Regions from separate parts of the Homo sapiens genome. Here region 1 is linked to region 2. Evidence: promoter capture Hi-C in 16 types of primary human blood cells and fetal thymus (Javierre and others, 2016). All regions are on one chromosome and are shown on one strand. Each heading gives the region's core, a stretch centred on a gene start or on the middle of the fragment in contact. The rest is flanking DNA. Distances are from core to core; before and after follow the strand shown. Region 1 overlaps LOC124902426 (a long non-coding RNA gene). Region 2 holds the start of PRKG1-AS1 (PRKG1 antisense RNA 1).

Region 1 (5,739 bases), core at 1,836-4,335, 240 kb after region 2:
ATCCACCCGCCTCGGCCTCCCAAAGTGCTGGGATTACAGGCGTCAGCCACCGAGGTTTGTGTTTTTCTCCAGCCATATTCCATTGCATGAGCACTGGGAACAACAACTGAATAATGTATCCCTAGGTGGGATTTTGCCCAATATGTAAAAATCTTCCAAAGATAGAGAAGGAAGTTGAGACAAATGCAAAGAAGAGATGATAATTATTAATCATAAAATTTAATGGACAAGTGATAGTATCAGATTTTAGGCACCAATGGTGCAGAAGGATCAGTGAAGTTACAGTACTAGATGGAGTACCCTGGACGGGTAGAAAGTTGGAGTTGGACAGTAAGACACTTGAAAATGAGATTCTGGAGAATTTTCAGTAATTGGTAAAGACAAGGGCAGGTATACAACCATGAAGGATCACTGGAAGTGAGGCAGTCAGGGAACTGAGAGACTAGGCTTTCAGTTGAATCATCTAGGTTCACCGTCAGCCCTCCATACCCATGGGTCTTGCACCTGTGGATTCAACCAACCACAGATAGGAAATATTCAGAAAAGAATGCATCAGTGCTAAACATGTAGAGAATTTTTCTTGTAATTATTTTCTAGACAGTGTGGTATAACAACTATTTATACAGGCTTTATCTTGCAGTAATCTAAAGATGATTTAAATTATATTGAAGGATGTTCATAGGCTATCTGCAAATACCATGTCATTTTATATAAGGGACTTGAGTATCTGCAGATTTTGGTATTCCAGGAAGATCCTGGAACCAATCCTTCTTGCATATTGAGGAACAGCTCTATGTGAAAGCCATTGTCCTAGTCTATTTGTGTTACTGCAAAGGAGTATCTGAGCCAGAGTAATTTATAAAGAAAAGAGGTTTATTTGGCTCACACTTCTGTTGGCTGTACAGGAAACCTAGTGCCAGCATCTGCTTCTGGTGAAGGTTTCAAGCTGCTTCCACTCATGGTGGAAGTTCTAGGAGAACAGACATCATGTGGCAAAAGAGGAAGGAAGAGATAGAGGAGGGAAGTGCCCCACTCCTTTTACCAGTCACATCTCCTGGAAACTAACAGAGCAAGAACTCACTATTGTGAGAACAGCACCAAAACATTCATGAGGGATCTGCTCCCATGATTCGAACACCTCCCACTAGGCCCCATCTCCAACACAGTGCATCAAATTTCAACATGAGATTTGGAAGGTTCAGATATCCAAACCATAGCAGTTACCAAAAATTAAATGGAAGTAATACCCGGGAGAGGTGCAGTAAGCTAGGAGCTAAGATTTTCAGCGAATGAGGAGTGTATTCCAGATATCAGTGAAAACATTTTAGGTGTGAATAGAAAATAAGCTCAATTTGCCACCTTTTTAAGGTTGTGGCTGCTCTAAGACAAGACAATTGAGATTTTTTAATTTTTTAGTTTGTCAGGGGGATTGTTATGAGGTGCTACAATATAGGCAGAAAAAAGAAAGATGTGTACAATATTATGTTTTTGAATGACTACTTGTCGAGGCTTTCTTTCTGAGAAACTGAACATAATTGGCTCATATATACTAAAAATTGTGTTATACGATTCTCACCTTTAATTTATTTCTAAAAAAATAAAGTTTCCAACGCATTAAAATAAACTTTATTTTTAGCGCAGTTTTAGGTTTACAGCAATATTGAGCAGAAGGCACAGAGACTTTTTCATATACTCCCTGCCTCCACACATACATAGTTTCTCCCATTAACATCTCTCACCAGATGTTGTATTTTTTACAATTCATAAACTTACATTAGCATATCATTATCTTCCAAAGTCCATAGTTTACACTGGGGTTCACTCGCGGGTTCATTCCATGAGTTTGGATACATATATCATGTGTACATCATTATAATATTATATAAATAGTTTTATTATCCTAAAAATCCTTATTCCTGTCTATTCATCCATCTCTCTCCCATCCACTGGCAACCACTGATCTTTTTACTGGATCCATAGTTTTGCTTTATCCATAATGTCATATATTTAAAACCATACAGTAATCGTAGCCTTTTCAGACTGGTTTATTTCACTCAGTAATAAGCATTTAAGGTTCCTCCATGTCTTTTCATGACTTGGTAGCTGATTTCTCTTTTGCTCTGTACTTCTCAAAATGATTGGTGTATACTTTTTTGTTTTTCAGTGCTCCTGATTGTTATTTATGTACATAGGTAGAATATGGCAAAATTGTATTTGCAGATTGAATATTTTCATAAAAGATTTAAAAAACGGCATTCTTATTTTTTCACATTTAAGCTTTCTTCAATTCAAAATGAAATTCAAGATAACACACAGAAATTCGGGATTTACATTAAATTCTGTTATCTGTCTAAGATAATTCTATGCTCTTGATTTAGTTAAATAGTTAAATAGTTTTCCCATTGCAGATTTTTATTAACTGATAGGTATATGTAAGCTGAACTTTATACTATGTCAGGTCCTAAATGGGCCATATTAATAAATGAGAGCTAAAAGAAACATATGTTCTCTTCCCTTGGTACTCACTTAATTGTTAAAGATTCAATAGCATCTTTAAAAGTCTTCAGGAAATAAAAAAAAAAAGTCTTCAGGAAATCATGATGAATTGAATTATTAACTTTATAAATGTATTTATTGTTCATTAAAATTTTTTGAAATGTAAACCCAGCATGTTGAATACTGAGTTAAAACATATATGAAGCTAATCTTTTCAAAAACCTTATTACAAAGTCTCAAGATGAAATTTTTTTCATCATGGTAATCTGAGAGACGCTGTAGAGTGTGGTGTTTAAAAGCCTTATTCTGGAATCCAAAGGTTTGGCTATAAGTCCTTGCTCTGCTAATTGTTAGATTTACCTTAGGCGTGTGATTCAAATTTTCCAATCTTAAATTTCCTCACTGTAAAATAGTGGTAATAAAAGAATCTATTTTATAGGGGTTTTAATTACAATTAAATAATCCATAAAAAGCATTTAGCACAATCCCAGGTATAGAGTAATGATATTTTGTCCTGCCCTCTTCCAACTTCAAGATTTCTCTTAAATCATATCCCATGCTTAGAACATTTTTTTCTTCTTTTCTATATACCAAACCACTTTTTACTCAGGAGGATCTCCTAGCAAGTTTAATTAATTGAAAATGGAGAGATTATTCTAGTGTTCATAAAAATTATTCATGTCAATTTAATCCTAAGGATTTTTAAAATAAATTATAAGATAAGTAGGTTACTTCTATGGACTAAATATTTGTGTCCCCCTTCCCCCAAATCCACATGGTATTAATCCTCAATCTGATGGTATTAGGAGGTGGGGCCTTTGGGAAGTCTGATGGTTTTAGGAGGTGGGGCCTTTGGGAAGTAATTAGGTTTAGATGAGTTCATGAGGATGGGGTCTCCACAATGGGATTAATACCTCTATGAACAAAAGAAGAGACTTGAGATCTCTCTCTTAGTGCATGCACCAAGGAAGGCCATGTAAGGGCATAACCAGGAAGATGCCCCTCACCAAGAAACTGACCATGATGGTACCCTGATCTCAGACTTCTAGACTTCAGAGCTGTGAGAAATAAATATTTGTTGTTTAACTCACCTAGTCTATGGCATTTCATTATGGCAGCCCAAACTAACCAAGATAGTTACTTGGTGGTATTTTATACACACAGTGATTTTGTTGGTGGGACAATATTTTGATGGGCATGGCAATCCTAGAAATTGGTGGAGCTCTACATCCCCTTACTTAACTATGTTTGATTTCCTATACAGGTATTCACACTGAAGACAAGTCACATGTGCTTCCAATTTTGATTGCCAGGGTATTTACACTGAGGAATTATTGTCAAATTGACCTGAAAGCAGTGGACAACATGTTTGTGGTCATCAATAAAAAGTGACTTATAAAGCTTCAGTAATAAACATAGTCTAGAACTACTTTAAAGCGGAAGCTGCCTTTCGCTGGAATGTTATTAAATTTTTGTATCTCTTAGGAAAAGCAGAGTTACTGATATCAATAGCCAAATTTGAATAGTTAGTAACTACTTAATGACATTTGTTGCTATTTGAAAACACCGGTATCCCATATGAGACAGAATGGTTGCTAGAAAGAACAGTGACCCAGGAGTGAGACCCAGGTGCCTACTTCATAGATAGCGGGCTGTAGGCCTGCCACTTCTCCTTCCTGGATCGGTTTGCTCATCTGTTAAATGAAGAGAATGGAGTCTCAGAAATCCTGTCCCAGCATTTCGTGATCCTCTGTTGTTAATTGTAGACTTTAAAGCTTGTGTGTCATTTGTTTGTCTCCTATTGCCTGCTATTAAGATGATTGAAGTATAAGAATATGTCATGTGTTTGTAGCCTGAATTGATTGACCTTGTGCAAGGATCTGGATGAAATTTTCAGTGAAATAATACTCAGTTTTCCCTTCCTGGAGCCTTCTTTATTTCCCACCTCTTTCCATGATGTTTCAGTCTGTCCTAGTTTTATGAGGTTGTTAAAAAATTCACTGTGAAAGATTAGGAGGAAATGATGAGGTCTTTGGTTGCTGGGTAACTGCTTTTTAACCATGATTCAATGTTTAATAAGATTGTTTTATCTGGTTCCAGGGTCTTCCCAGAATTTCACTGTTGCTGATTTTGTGTTCTTTTAAAGAAAAAAAAGAGTACACTTGCAAGTTTTTTTCCATGATGTTTCTTAAATTTATACTTATTTTAAAATGTTCTTCATCAAATATTTCAGCCTGATCAAGTCTTGTTCTTTTTTCTCTTGGTAAGAAGGATTTTATATAAAAAAATTAAAATAGTATATATCTATTCTCTCAAAGCAGTTCCAAAAACTAAATATAAAAAAAATAGTCTTTATAGTCTGTTTAAGCAGGTTTCAAAGTCAGCTCCTCCATTCCTGAAGTTTTTATTTAGATTATTTCTTTCTTATGGCATTTTAAACTTTTTTTCTTTTTAAAATTTTTGTTATTTGTATAGATTTAGGGGGTACAGTGCAATTTTTGTACATTGATATATTGCATAGTGGTAAAGTCTGGGCTGATAGTGTACCCCTCACCTGAATTGTGAACATTGTACCAATAGGAATTTTTCAACCATCACCAGTCTCCCGCCCTCCTCCCTTATGGAGTCTCCTACCCTCCTCCCTTATGGAGTGTCCAATGTCTATTATCCCTCTATGTCTGTGGGTACCCATTGTTTAGTTCCCACTTATTAATGAGAATATGTGGTATTTGATTTTTTTGTTTCTGAGTTATTTCACCTACGATAATGGCCTCAAGCTCTATCCATGTTGTGGTAAAAGACATGATTTCACCTTTTTATGGCTATGTAATATATATATATATATATAACATTTCCTTTATCCAATCATCCATTAATGGACACTTAGGTTGATTCTATAACTTTACTATTGTGAATAGTTATGCAATAAATATGAGTGCAGGTATCTGTTTGATATGACAATTTCTTTTCCTTTGAGTAGATACTTAGTAGTAGGATTGTTGGATTGAATTGTAGTTTTTTTTTTTTAGCTCTTTAAGAAATCTCCTTACTGTTTTTTCATAGAGGTTGTATTTATTTGCATTCCCACCAGGAGCATATAAATATTCTCTTTTCCCTGCATCGTCTCCAACAATTTTTTTTTTTTTTTTACTTTTAATAGTAGCCATTCTGACTGCTGTGAGATGGTATCTCATTGTGGTTTTGATTTGCATTTCTCTGATGATTAGTGGTGTTGAGTACATT
Region 2 (6,650 bases), core at 3,284-5,783:
AGGAACCTCTCCATCTCCCCTGCATCCCATTTTATAAAGAAAAGCCAGTACCACACCAAGAGTTAAATGGCTTTCCCATATTTAGGAGCCAGATTATGGCTGACACCCTATACAGAGTACCATCCCTAGCCTCTTAACTCCTTGGCACGATGCCTTTCTTGGCCATACCCTGGGAGAAGATCTGTCTTATAAAGGAGGTAATAATAGGAACCCAGTGACATGGAAGAAAATTGTTTTTCTGTAGATGCGGAGACTGTGTCATGGGATCCTACATCTTGCTTTCTGCAGACACTGGCCTATCCTTAGGGTTGGAGATGTTAAATCCTTTGGGGACTCAAAGAGGACATTGCACTCCCTATACCCACCACCACAGACCTTTCTGAGTGTCAGGACCTCAGAAAGGATGCAGGCAGATATCTATCTGGTTAGGCACTATCTTCACTGGGTTTAGAGGCTGGAACCCAGCCTCTACTCTCAGATTAGCTTTTAATGTCTTACTCCAGTAAAACACATCTTCTGAGCTTGGTTAGAAAGCTACCACGGAGCCTGATTTATCTGGGCTGGCCATCTCCACCGCCCAAATAAATGTAATCACGGTCAAATCTTGCCCTCTGTTTGTACTGGGGAGTGCAGAAAATCCAGCTCTCAGGGGAGTCATAACATGGACCAGGTCTAAAAGTTCTTTTAACATCATGAAGAACATTAAGACCAAACTGTTTTAAAAGTCAATGAGAAAGTCATATCATTTTTTACAAAACATCAGGAATGAGGAATCCCTGCTATACTCAAGATTGACACTAACAAAAATGTTGGCAACACCCACCGTAAGGAATGATATGTATGCGGTATTTTCCTAGCAAAGTAAAATTATATGGCAACAAATCTGCTTCTTTTGATTTAATGAAGAGAAAGAAGGAAAGAAGGGAAGGAGGGAGAGAAAAAAGAAAAGAGGAAAGAAGGGAATTTAAAATACAGCAGTAGACTGGGCGCGGTGTCTCACTCCTGTAATCCCAGCACTTTGGGAGGCCAAGGTGGGAGGATCACTTGAGCCTAAGAGTTTAAGACCAGCTCTGGCTAGCAACATAGTGAGACCCTGTTTCTACAAAAAAATTAAAAATTAGCCAGGTGTGGTGGCATGCAGCTGTAGTCCCAGCTACTTGGGGGTGAGGTGGAAGAACCGCTTGAGCCTGGGAGGTCAAGGCTGCAGTTAACCACGATTGCACCACTGTGCTCCAGCCTGAGCGACAGAATGAGATCCTGTCTCAAAAAATATATAAAAATATATAAAATAAAAAAAATCAGCAGTCACAAATAATAGAGATGGAAAAATAGTTGGTGAATAGCATGGAGTGTTTTGGAGTATATTTGTCTGTCTCCCTCATGGATGAAAAGGTTGAGAAATATTCTATGCATGGCATCCAGCACTTAAAATATAAAGAAGACATGTGTTAGCATGCTGTTCCCGAGTTATGAGGTTCAATTCCACGCTGATAAGCATATTTCACCTATTCAAAAATATAATACAAAATATTAAATTTGTTACATTAATTATGATCATATTTATACCAGACTGAATAGGAGGCAGGGTTCCCTACAGGACTAAATAAACTCAGTTTAATAAACTAAATTCATCTACTCTGGCTCCCACCTCCTCTGTCACCCAGCTGTAAGAGAGACTCAGACAATCACCAGAACCCTCTCTCCTTCCTAAGACATGTTGGTCACAGTTCCTGCACATTTTTCTTGCTCTCCATGACCTAGTATCTGCCAAAATATAATCGATGTTGGAAAAATTTTTACCCCCAGCCCCATGTAAGTATGTTGTATTTCCCCAACTAGTCACAGACTGAAAGCTGAGGACAAGAAGCCTGCCTTTCATATTGTGAGATATGCTCCCAATAATGGATACTCACCGAATATTAACTGGCTGCTGATGGAACAATGAGTTTTACTATACCTCTTTATCTACCTTGCACTCTTGTTGCCAATGAACAAACCACATCCTGGAAAGGATTTTCAAATGGAGAAAAAGTACTGAAAAAATAAATTTCCTCATTTGGAACAAAGGTTTGATTTGCTATGTACTTAGCCCTCTCTGAGGACCACCCATGTAATTTCTCCCCTGAATAATTTGTGAGGTTACCTCTCCTCTGCCCACTAAATGATTTGAAGGTAGATTATATGTGAACTCATCTTTTATCACACAATATCATGTATAATGCTTAGCACAAAGTAGGAACTCAGATATTGACCAACTCATTATTAGTTTTAAACTCATGACAACTTCAGGAGCAATGTGAAAGCTGAGGAAGGAGGTAGAAGCTAGCCCATTCTTGAAACTCTATGCTTGGTTTAGCTCTCCTAGCTCAATACCACAGATTCTGTCCAGACTCAGTGAATATTGAAACATAATAGACAAATGATATGTGTTCAGAGATCAAGGTTGAATTTATGCAACAAGCTTCTTTGTTATAACAGAATTTTCCTTTTGTTGATTAAATTGTTCCACTTTCTCTTCTTTTGCCCCAGGCAATGGATTTTTTTTGTGAAGCCAAGCTTTTAATGAACCAAGTTCATTAAATGTATTAATCATATACTATCTCTTCAGAAAAAAAGGCAAGAGATTGGCCTTTAGTGTGGCACAAATATATTTCTAGATTCAAAATATTTAAACAGGTTAATAGGACTAAAAAGAAACATTTTCAACCTTCTGATTGGCAGGCGGATTTTTCTCTACGTTTCAAAGTCATTCAAACTTAACACAGCTTGCAGATTTCCTAGTACACTGAAGGTGCTTAACGCATTGATTCCTGACAGGATAATTTCCTGGACAGATGGAATTTGGGATGGGAAGGACACTAATATAACTAGGGTACCATTCAAGAATTGTTTAGATGATCTTCTTAATATTACCTTTGAAACTGAAGGAACTAGAACACAGACCATAGTAAATTGTGTTTTAATTACTCCTTCTCCCAGTAAACTTTAGGATTTTTTTACTTTAAGATTGTCACTGGCTTTACTTGGTGGTGGCCCCAGTTCTGACTATAGTAGGTCAGCATGTGGAGTCATTATAGACAGCCTAAATCTATACAGCTTAGAGGAAGACAAAATAAATATATCTTACTCTTTTTTAATTCAATAGTGATTATTCAATCATCTCTCCCTTTTCCAAACTCACAAAACAGTTGCTTATTTTCTGACACTTATAATATCAACCTGTTTTTAAAAGAATTATGTATGCTTTTATATTTATTGCTATAATTTTATTGTTACTACATCTTTTATTATTACTGTAATTAGAATAAAGAGAACTTTATTATTTAAAATGAGAGCTGTGTCTCATAAATATTTGTATTCACTGTGCCCCTCCCCCCACCACCCATCTCACCAAAAAATTTAAAAAATAAAAATAAGGTAACAACCCAGAGGGCAGCCCAATGCCAGGGCTCTAGGCTTCCAATAAGTTTTTGTTGAATTAAATAGATCATTTCCCATTTATAAGCATGACATCATTCTTATACACCAGCCTTACTTTATTATATCCACACACCAATTTCAATGACGTCAAATTCACTTTCTAATTCACTTTCAGCTCTTCTTCTCCTCAAGGTTGTTTCTTTTCTCCCTAGAAAGGGTATTGCGTGGTCCCGTGCAAGGTAAGACTTGGGAGCAAACCCTGCATTCGGAAGCGTTGCGATGTGATATACTAATGAGGAAGTCAGGCGCTAAGCCCTAAGGGTTTCTTATTTCTCCACATTAGCCCACCACTGAGAAGGGAGAACCGGGGAAAGGCGACTGACCTGGCACGTTGGACCCTGTCCGCTTTGGTCCCGGCCACTTTGATCTCACGCGTCTGCCTAATCAAGTTCATCTACCGCCGCGATTGCCCTGATTCAAAGAACAACATTAAATGGTTTGATTATCGGATGGTCATTTCCCTCTTCCCTCCACCCCTGATCTAATTTCTAAACGCCAGTCTCTCGCCTCCCTCTCTAAACTTCCCATCAAAAGAGAATTAGCTCTTCTTCCTTCTTACCCTCGTTTGATGTGCAAATTTCCTTCTCTTTGCACATTTTTCTCGCAGTGGCGGGGGGAGGTGGGGGAGGAGGGCAACTGAAGGACCTCAAAGCCGGGGATCTAACTCAGATCTGCAAACTGCGACTCTAAAGGGTTAATGAGCAACTTGCACCCGCCACCTGGCCCTCTCAGAGGCGTCTTGCTAGAGCCATTGAATTACAGACCGGTTTGTATTTAATACTGAATATGACTTGTGTGCACAGTCAGCGAGTATTGGCATAAAGGAGAGGGGCAAAAAGTGCTTTTGCAGAGCCTATCACCCCTCGGCTCTGTAAAGTATTTCAGATCCGGATAATTCAACCCTTACTGCCAGGCAAGGGCACCCAAGTTCCCAGAGTTCCTGCTGCCGCCTGCATTTATTAAAGTCGTCTGCTATAACGCTCGCTGGTAGCCTTCACCCCGAAGGTGAGCCGGGCCAGCCGAGCGACTAAGCAAGGGAGGGGCGGGGTGAAGAGTGTCAAAGGCCCCCCTTCATGTACACAAACACACCCCCTCCCAGCCCCTCCCAGCGCTTTGAAATCCCATCCCGGCTTTGTTGTCTCCCTCCCAAGGGGCCGGAATGCTCCGGGCCCGCGGTATAAAGGCAGCCGCGGTGGCGGTGGCGGCGCAGAGCTCTGTGCTCCCTGCAGTCAGGACTCTGGGACCGCAGGGGGCTCCCGGACCCTGACTCTGCAGCCGAACCGGCACGGTTTCGTGGGGACCCAGGCTTGCAAAGTGACGGTCATTTTCTCTTTCTTTCTCCCTCTTGAGTCCTTCTGAGATGATGGCTCTGGGCGCAGCGGGAGCTACCCGGGTCTTTGTCGCGATGGTAGCGGCGGCTCTCGGCGGCCACCCTCTGCTGGGAGTGAGCGCCACCTTGAACTCGGTTCTCAATTCCAACGCTATCAAGAACCTGCCCCCACCGCTGGGCGGCGCTGCGGGGCACCCAGGCTCTGCAGTCAGCGCCGCGCCGGGAATCCTGTACCCGGGCGGGAATAAGTACCAGACCATTGACAACTACCAGGTGAGAGGGGTCGGGCACTCAGAGGATGCTCTGACCTTGAAAGGGTCCTATCTGGAGACGAGGGAGTAGAACGTGCTGAATGTGTGCGGTTCAGGGAGCATTTGGTAACCCTGCATTTGGGAGCAGTGGGCAGTAACAGGTTTTGGAGAGGTGGACAGATAAGGACTGTGATCAGCGCCCGGGTCCAAGAGGGCGGGTACCTGGACGTCTGGGTGCCTCACCCTCTCCCCGAACCCTTCCCACAGCCGTACCCGTGCGCAGAGGACGAGGAGTGCGGCACTGATGAGTACTGCGCTAGTCCCACCCGCGGAGGGGACGCAGGCGTGCAAATCTGTCTCGCCTGCAGGAAGCGCCGAAAACGCTGCATGCGTCACGCTATGTGCTGCCCCGGGAATTACTGCAAAAATGGTGAGTCCTGAAAGCTCCCTTTCACACTAAAACTGTCCAGCCTTTGAGCGTCTATGAATTGGGCGGGGGCGGGGGGTTGGGGGGGGTGGGGGGAGAAATCTCCGCCCTGAGAACACTGCGGCGCCACCTGCAAATGGGTGTTCAGCATGCAGGATTCCGCTGAAGTATCTTCATTGCAAGTGTTTAATCGGGAAGAAGAGAGAAGTTGGGAGGTCTCTGAGGTCCTTATCTTCCTCCGTGTCCCTCAATGATTCAATACAACGGTTCACCTCGTAGTGGACTCTTCCATAAAAATTTGTCTGGGGAGAACCTTGAGGTCAATTGAGAAGGGGGATGATGAGGAGGACGATGGGATCATACAGATATCAAAGAAACCAGCTTTGGCGTTCAGCTGTCCTTTTCATTTTTCTTATTGTGATTCTCACAGTTTTGCCAGACTGGCCTCGCCTTCTGATTTTTGCTGAAACTGTTGTCAGCCAGAGGACTGATTTATCTGCATTGGCCATTTTTAAGAGAGATCTTGGTACCCTCACAACTTGACTTCTCCATCCTTCCCCCTCCCTCTACCCTCTGCTGCCTTAATATAAGTACTCCTCCCCCCAACCACAGATCCACTAACTTTTAATTTTTCAAAAGGTGGATTTAGACAGCTAAAGAGGTCTCCAGAAATAAGCTAACAGGGCGACGACCCTCCTTAGGACCCAGCAGTACTCCAGGATGAACTAAGTAAATCTCTGTAATATAGAAATTACACAGTAAAGTAACTGGCCGGTGAGATTGCAATGTTCCAGGCAGCTGGAATTGCATTTGCTTAACTTAGTCTGGTAGGACCCATATAGCACCAGGGGCAGAGAAGTTATTTTTAAGAACATTTTTAAAGTGACTGAGTTTCTTTTTCTTACCCCAAAGGTAATATTAAAATGGGCAGAAATCTCACTTGCCCCTACCACAGTTGGTGGGAAAGTATTTTAAATGGCTATACTGGGGATATTACCTATGACTGACTGTATACAGTATACACATTGGTGCTTCTGTCCATCTGGAGAGTTTTGCATTAACAGTAAAGAGGAAGTTTGGCTTGTGTTTAAAATGATGTCACTGCAATGAAGTATCTCAAGTTGATGCTGGCATAACAGACTGCCACTGTCACAGCTGTTAG

Evidence for each region. Contacts are between HindIII fragments. The CHiCAGO score rates a contact against its expected background, and 5 or more counts as called.
Region 1: a fragment that was not itself captured here is called in contact with the fragment with the promoter of PRKG1-AS1 in region 2 in 2 of 17 cell types (endothelial precursors and M2 macrophages); the score reaches 6.3 in endothelial precursors.

The regions. Positions count from the first base shown.
Region 1 is chr10:52,546,735-52,552,473 of GRCh38, forward strand. All of the region lies in intron 1 of LOC124902426 (a long non-coding RNA gene), which reads left to right. Among named protein-coding and RNA genes, the nearest start is that of LNCAROD, 79 kb to the left of the region's middle. The HindIII fragment of the contact is 1,620 bases long and covers 2,276-3,895 here.
Region 2 is chr10:52,309,595-52,316,244 of GRCh38, forward strand. PRKG1-AS1 (PRKG1 antisense RNA 1) reads right to left here and starts at 4,534. Exons shown (of 6, transcript NR_038277.1): 1 at 4,040-4,534; 2 at 3,804-3,891. It overlaps DKK1 (dickkopf Wnt signaling pathway inhibitor 1), which reads left to right and starts at 4,687. Exons shown (of 4, transcript NM_012242.4): 1 at 4,687-5,083; 2 at 5,329-5,491. The coding sequence starts at 4,841. The HindIII fragment of the contact is 4,208 bases long and covers 2,555-6,650 here.